Regions from separate parts of the Homo sapiens genome. Here region 1 is linked to region 2. The links are contacts of gene promoters, found by promoter capture Hi-C in human tissues and cell types (Jung and others, 2019). All regions are on one chromosome and are shown on one strand. The core of a region is centred on a gene start or on the middle of the fragment in contact, and the rest is flanking DNA. Distances in the headings are between cores, read along the strand shown. Region 1 has its middle 22 kb from the start of C12orf71. Region 2 holds the start of MRPS35 (mitochondrial ribosomal protein S35).

What was found. The method cuts DNA at HindIII sites, captures the fragments that hold promoters and counts their contacts. A contact is called where the count stands out against the background at its distance.
Region 1: a contact is called between a fragment that was not itself captured here and the fragment with the promoter of MRPS35 in region 2, in 1 of the 25 tissues and cell types used here (lymphoblastoid cells).

What each region holds. Positions count from the first base shown.
Region 1 is chr12:27,058,367-27,062,512 of GRCh38, reverse strand. No RefSeq gene overlaps it. Among named protein-coding and RNA genes, the nearest start is that of C12orf71, 22 kb to the left of the region's middle. The HindIII fragment of the contact is 4,112 bases long and covers 760-4,146 here.
Region 2 is chr12:27,709,017-27,712,877 of GRCh38, reverse strand. MRPS35 (mitochondrial ribosomal protein S35) reads right to left here and starts at 2,046. Exons shown (of 8, transcript NM_021821.4): 1 at 1,923-2,046. The coding sequence starts at 2,034. It overlaps MRPS35-DT (MRPS35 divergent transcript), which reads left to right and starts at 2,131. Exons shown (of 5, transcript XR_001749448.2): 1 at 2,131-2,215. RefSeq lists enhancers at 1,626-2,415, 2,426-2,505, 2,536-2,615. The HindIII fragment of the contact is 7,635 bases long and covers 1-3,861 here.

The DNA of each region.
Region 1 (4,146 bases), core at 1,566-4,065, 650 kb after region 2:
ATAATATAATATATATATATAATATAATATATATATATAATATTATATATATATAATATAATATATATATAATATTATATATATAATATATATATATATAATATTATATATATATATATAATATAATATAATATATATATATATATATATATATATATATTTTTTTTTTTTTTTTTTTTTTTTTTTTTGAGATGAGTCTCGCTCTGTTGCCCAGGCTGGAGTGCAGTGGTGCGATCTCGGCTCACTGCAAGCTCCGCCTCCCAGGTTCATTACATTCTCCTGCCTCAGCCTCCCGAGTAGCTGGGACTACAGGCACCTGCCACCACACCTGGCTAATTTTTTTGTATTTTTAGTAGAGACGGGGTTTCACCGTGTTAGCCAGGATGGTGTCGATCTCCTGACCTCATGATCTGCCCACCTCAGCCTCCCAAAATGCTGGGATTACAGGCGTGAGCCACCACCCCAGCCGGGGCCAGGATTTTTTTATCCTTGCATGAGCCACACCTGGGAGGCATTGTAATCTTGGATCAAGGTGGTCCCCTGCAGCCAAGGGCAGTTTCAAATGAAGGATGAACCTATGAGCCAGCACTTCCAGCAGCTTGGGAATGAGTACATCATCCCTGAAGATGAGATCAAGATGGAGACCATAATACCTACCTTCTCCTTACAGACACATTTAAATTGGGACACATTCTCTTTTCATTCTTCTACTCATTGTATATCAGGGCAGTTTACAGAGCACCTTATTGCAGCCATCCCAGTCTCTTTACATATCTCCCCTACTTCCTTTTCTTTGGGACTATTCACATTTATACAGTCAGATATCATTTTATAATTTTTCCCTTTTTTCTGTTACATACGCTGTATTCATCTGTTCTCACGCTGCTAATAAAGGCATACCCAAGGCTGGGTAATTTATAAAGGAAAGAGGTTTAATGGACTCACAGTTCCACATGGTTGAGGAGGCCTCATGATCATGGTGGAAGGCAAATGAGAAGCAAAGGCACGTCTTACATGGCAGCAGGCAAGAAAGAATGAGAGAGCCAAGAGAAAGGGGAAACCCCTTATAAAGCCATCAGATCTCATGAGACTTATTCACTACCACAAGAACAGTGTGGGGGAAGCTGCCCCCATGATTCAATTATCTCCCACCAGGCCCTTCCCACAACATGTGGGAATTATGCAAGCTACAATTCAAGATGAGATTTGGGTGGGACACAGCCAAACCATATCATATAGTGTTTTTCTGAATCTTTATAAATCTGCTTTTTTAAACCTATACATTCTGTTAGAATGCTATTATTTCATAGTAACTTTCTCCCATATAACCAATCTTTTCTTTCTTGTTGGTTAGAAAAAAATTTTTGAATATTATTTGCCATTTTGGTTTTCTCTACTTTCTAAGAATGTTTTAGTTAGAGTTATTGGTTGCAAACAACAGAAAATAAATCTGGCTCCGTTAAGGAGAAAAATAATTTGGGGAAGGGTTAAAGGTTGCACAATAAGCAAGAAAACTTACCAAACTTAGGCATGAAGCTAGACAGACAAAGCACAGCCAAGATCCTGCCCAAAGAGCCATTGGTGTAGGATGTTCTGCTGGCAATGATCCTGCGGGAGAAACAGCTGTGCTGCTGGTGTCTGCTGCCTCTGGATGCTAACTCTCAGGCCTCTGAACTTACAATGTCTCTGTAGATAAAGTAACTGTACTCATGTTACAGTCCATGCTCTAGCTACCAGAATTAAGGAGAAAGGCTGGGCCAGGCAGGGTGGCTCGTGCCTGTAATCCCAGCACTTTGGGAGGCCAACGCAGGTGGACTGCATAAGATCAGGAGTTCAAGACCTGCCCGACCAACATGGTGAAACCCCATCTCTACTAAAAATACAAAAATTTGCCAGGTGTGGTGTCAGTTGCCTATAATCCCAGCTACTCAGGAGGCTGAGGCAGGAGAATGGCTTGAAGCCAGGAGGCGGAGGTTGCAGTGAGCCAAAGTCGTGCCACTGCACTCTAGAAGACAGAGCAAGACTCTGTCTAAAAAAAAAAAAGGAGAAAGACTATCATTCCCCTGCAGCTTCCATGTAGTAAACAGAGACTGGCATTCCTTATATTTCCCCTTGTGACTCTCCCAAAGAGGAAGGTGGTCATATAATGAGCTACCAAAATAATAAATGACCATTAACACAAGACTCAAAAAATGCAAGAATTTTAGCTGCACAAGGTGGCTCACGCCTGTAATCCCAGCACTTTGGGAGCCCAAGACTGGCAGATCACCTGAGGTCAGGAGTTTGAGACCAGCCTGGCCAACATGGCGAAACCCCGTCTCTATTAAAAATACAAAAATTAGCCGGGTGTGGTGGCAGGCGCCTGTAGTCCCAGCTACTCGAGAGGCTGAGGCAGGAGGGTCTCTGGAACCCAGGAGGTGGAGGCTGCAGTGAGCTGCGATCATGCCACTGCACTCCAGCCTGGGAAAAGAGTAAGAATCTGTCTCCAAAAAAAAAGAAAGAAAGAAAAAAATGTAAGAATTTGTCAATAGTATCCCTTTAAGATAATTAGTTTTCAGAATGTTGGTATATTTGGATTCTTACATGCCACTTTTACTTGCCCCTCTGAAATGTTTATAATTTATGTTAGGAGAGCATCTTTTTAAAAATAATTAATTAATTTGAAAAGTTTTTGTAGACAAGGTCTTGCTGCATTGCCCAGACTGGTCCTGAACAGGGTTCAAGTGATCCTCTCACCTCGGCCTCCCAAAGTGCTCCAATTACAGGTGTGAGCCACTCAGATAAGGAAGCATTTTTTTATATAATCTGCTGTTCTATGTCCTTATTATACTCCAACAACAATAGCATTTTTGTTTGTTTCTGTTTTTATTCTAGTCTGAGGTCTTATCAGATGTTACAAATGTGTTCTGTGGGGGAAAATAATACGTCTTCAATCATATAAAATGAGAAGTGCCATCAACTATAACTCTCTTTTGAACACAGTAGCATATGAAAGGTTTTGAGAAATCCAGAAGTAAAGAGGTAGATGTAGGCTGGGCACACTGGCTCATACCCGTAATCCTGGCACTTTGGGAGGCCGAGGCAGGAGGATCTCTTGAGGCCAGGAGTTCAGCAAAAATGGGACTGTGGCTCCCAGAATCCTGTGCGATCACTGGAATTCCTAGCTTCCTGCAAAACAGCAGTGGCAGTGTGGTGTTAGAAGTCTCAGCAGCACAGCACTCATGGGATCTGAGCAATGTTCCTTTCCCTTTTGCTCCTCCAGCCTTGGGAGTTGGCAGCTTCCAGTACTTACTGATATCTGGGTAGCATCCATTCACCTTTTTGTCTCTTCAGCTCCACTAACACTTTTGCAAACTACCCGCTGTGTTAATGGCTCAGTGTTAGAAATACCTAGAGTGGTTTCTGTTGTTCTGATAGATCACTTAAATATACAAACATGGTATTTTCCCCCAAGAAAACATATTAACATGTTGTATGACTACAGTATTTTGTACACCATATTTTGGGAAATACCTAGAGTTATTTATATTGTTCTGACTAGACACTGAAATATACAAACATGGTACTTTCTCCCCAGAAAACCTATTGACTTTTATGATGATGATATTCTGTATGACATAATTTATTTAGGAAATGCAAATAGCCCAAATCTCCTTCACTTTTGTTTTCTAGTTGTTTTTTCTGCAAATAGGCACTTTGACTACTATACTACTATTATTATTCACATTATATTACCTTTTTTTTTTTTTGAGACAAGTCTCACTCTGTTGCCCAGGCTGGAGTACCGCGATCATGGCTCACTGCAGCCTCAACCTCCTGGGCTCAAGCAGTCCTCCCACATCAGCCTCCTGAGTAGCTGGGAGGATCACTTGAGACCAGGAGTTCAGGACCAGCCTGGGCAATGCAGCAAGACCTTTTTAATTAATTAATTAATTAATTAATTAATTACTTTTTAAAAGATGCTTCCCTAATATAAAAATACAAATACCATTGTATTTTTAGTAGAGACAGGGTTTTGTCATGTTGCCCAGGCTGGTTTCAAACTTCTGAGCTCAAACAATCTGCCTGTCTTGGCCTCCAAAAGTGCTGGGATTACAGGTGTGAGCCACCACACCCAGCATATTACATATTTTTAACCAAAGTTTC
Region 2 (3,861 bases), core at 797-3,296:
TCTGGCTAATTTCTTGTATTTTCAATAGAGACGAGGTTCCGCCATGTTGCCCAGGCTGGTCTCAAACTCCTGGGCTCAAGGGATCCGCAGGCCTCGACCTCCCACAGTGCTGGGATTACAGGAATGAGCCCCCACACTCAGCCCCTTGGCAGGGCTTTTGATTTTCTTCTTCCAGTCTTCCCAATTCGTGTACATGGAATCATCATTCATCCAATTGCTCAGAACAAAAATGTAACAGGATTTTTTTGAGACTTGTCCTCAAGCCCCACATCAAATCCATCAGTAAATCCTATGAACTTTACCTTCAAAATATATCGCAAATACAACCACACCTCCTTCTCCACTATTACTTTAATCCAAGTCACCATCACCTCATTTGGATTACTGCAACAGCCTCCAAACAGATCTTTGGCTTCCACTCTTACCCCAGTAAAGCAGCCAGTGATCTTTTAAAAACGTAAATCACATTATATCAGTTCCCTGTTCCAAGCCTTTCAATATAAAACCCAAGCCAAAAATCCAAATGAAATGTCTACAAACTCTTGAGAGATCAGATTATTACTTAACTAACTCTCTGACGTCTTATACTACCACTCTCTCCTCTACTCACACTTAGCTCCTGCCACATTGTCCTTCTTCCCGTTCCTTGATCACACCCCTCAGATTGTTCTCAACTTTTGGCCTTTGCACTTATAGTTCCCCATACCCCAAAGGCTCTTTCCCCATATCTCTGCATGGCTTGGGGCCCTGTTCAAATGTCACTTCCTCAGAAAGATCTTTCCTGACCATCCTGTGGCCACTACTCCCCCCAAATCCATCATTCTCAATACTCTACTTTATTTTTCTTCAAAGCATTAAACCCTATCTGACATCTTATTTAGTTGTTTGGTTGTTTATACTATTGACTTCCCCACCTTGCCGTATCTCCGGTGAGTGTCTAGAACACTGCATGGTATACAATAGGAGTTAAGTATTCCAAGAATTTAAGAATGAAAATTTAAAAATAGACAATTATTAGACCTATGAAGAGCCAGTATGAAGGATTAATGTATTTATAGTTTATCTGAAAACAATGGGAAACCATTTGTAGATCTTGAACATGAGAGCAGCAAGACAAGATCTAAATTTTGAAAACCTCATTTGGCTGTTTTGAGAATTCAATGTAGGAGAGCAAGAGGGGAAACAGGAAACGGAAAAAAAACTTGTAGAAATGAGATGGTCACCTGAACTAGATAGTTGGTAGTATGAGGAGAGTAAATTAGAGATATAACAGGAAGTAGCACAGGTAGGATCCGCCTATTGATTAGACTCACGCCAGCTCCTCCTCAACGCTCCCGTCATTCTAGCCACACTTCTATCACAGCGCCTCTCACCCTACATAGCACTTCTCCGCTAATAAATCTGTATTTTCCACTAGAGTCCTCCGGGGTAAGCACGCTATCAAGCATCCCTACAATCTCTGTTAAATGGAGGTCATCAACGCCTGTTGAATGAAGGCCGCCCATTTGGTGGCCTGGAATTCAGAGCAGCAATTTGTCCTAGCACAGCCGTATGACTCTCTTAATGTTTGGGGAAATCCATGGTTCAACAGCGCCGATGCCCGATAAACAACACAGCACCAGTAACCTGTGCCAGGGGCTGTGGACGGGGGCAACACAGGAGCAGGTCACGGGGAAGGGGGATGTAAGCTTTCTGAGCAAACTCCCAGAGCACCCAGGGCAGAAACAGGCGGCTAGAAGCCGGGCAACGCGGGTGCAGAGCACAGACCCACGTCCATGGTTTTCCTACCAGACGGGCCTGGCAGCGGACGCACTGGCCTCCCCCGGGCGGCGCTGGCTCAGCCACCGCGGCACCCTTCATGAGGCCGGTATTCCGCTCTTGCACCTCCCCCAAAGCCCAGAGAAGACGAGACAGACACTCACGCAGGCTAGGTGTCGGGACCGGAGTGGCCGAGTAGACGGCAGTGGAGAATGCACGCAGAGTCCTTGCCCTCGACTGCAGAGACAGCCATGCTGGGAGCGCGGCGGCCGCCATGGCTGCGAGGACGGCAAGCCGGAGGGGACAAGCGGCGTTCAGTGTCAGGGGCGGGCCTGGGGCCGCTAAGCGCAGGCTCCCTGGGCTGGCACCGCCCTAGGCTGGAGAAAGAGGAAACACGTTGGTCTGCGCACTCAGAGCCGAGTCAAATGTGCAGGAAGATTCCCCCAAACTGAAAGAAGTAATGAAAAGAAAACAAAAAAAATCCTTAAAAATCGAGTGAATCAGTTCGTAGAGAATTGCAGATAAAGACCGTAGGGATAGGGGTTGCGGCTCACTGAAGGCGGGCGTGCTCTGGGTGGAACCTCAGTTGATCCGAGAGTCAGGCGGTCTACCCGAGGGACTCTTGTTATTTATAATTGTTGCTTTTCTACATTTACTTGGATTAAAGAAGTCTTCAACTAATGCCAGTAATATGCGCTAAGGGGAGAGAAGCAGTATCCCGAGCCAGAGTGCTTGGGTTTCAAACTTGACTTCACCACTTCTGGGATGTATGATCTCAGACAAGTTAGCATAGACAAATATTTGTGTACAGCGTTGGCATACAGTGAACACCGCGTGTACGTAGCCTATAACTTTTAGCTATATATGGTTAGCTTGTTGTTAGATCAGCTTAGAATTACAGAAAGTCAGAACTCATCAGGACCTAGAAAATAAACTTTTAATGAACACTCTTAAATTTTCTACGGTAGGATGAATTAACATACAAGCCTTAATAAAACAATTCTCGGCCGGACGCGGTGGCTCGCGCCTGTAATCCCAGCACTTTGGGATCCCGAGGCGGGTGGATCACCTGAGGTCAGGAGTTTGGGACCAGCCTGACCAACATGGAGAAACCTGGTCTCTACTAAAAATACAAAATTAGCCGGGTGTGGTGGCACATGCCTGTAATCCCAGCTACTCGAGAGAAGAATCGCATGAACCCGGGAGGCAGAGGTTGCGATGAGCCGAGATCGCGCCATTGCACTCCAGCCTGGGCAATAAAAGCAAAACTCCGCCTCAAAAATAAAATAAAATAAAATAAATTCTCTATTTTCTCTTTATTTTAAAAATTATTTTAATTAATTAATTAATTATTATTATTTTTGAGACAGAGTCTTGCTCTGTTGCTAGGCTGGAATGTGGTAGCAGGACCATGGCCCACTGCAGCCTTGACCTCCCAGGCTCAAGTGATCCTCCTACCTCAGCCTTTCAAGTAGCTGAGGCTACAGGCACGCACCACCACACCCAGCTAATTAAAAAAAAAATTGTTTTTCCAGAGATGAGGTCTCACAGTGTTGCCAGGGCTGGTCTCAAACTCTTGGGTTCAAGCGATCCTCCTGCCTTGGCCTCCCAAAAAAGTGATAGGACTACAGGCGTGAGCTACTGCACCTGGCCTATTTTTTCTATTTTTAAGTTTTTTGTAGAGTTGGGGGTCTTGCTATGTTGTCCAGGCTGGTCCCAAACTCTTGGCTTCATGTGATCCTCCTGCCTTGGCCTCCCAAAATGTCGGGATTACAGGCATGGGTCTGGCCTATTTCCCTATTTTGTCTCAAAGTGACAAAATTATAACAGTAAAAACAACTAAAAATAAACAAAACCGATTCTTGGTAAGCATACAACCAGTAGAGCAGAGGTATGCAGGTGTCCAAGAATATTCTAGCTGTGAACATTCAGTGCGCCATGGACATCAATCAGTAAGGTATGGGAGGGGGACAAATAGCATGAGATGGACAAGTATTTGTAATATTCATCATCTTCATCTTTTCTGGACTTTTACCATCCTGTTATTGTTCCAAAATAGAAGCATGATGTATGAGTTTCCTAGGGGATTGGAACAAAGTACCG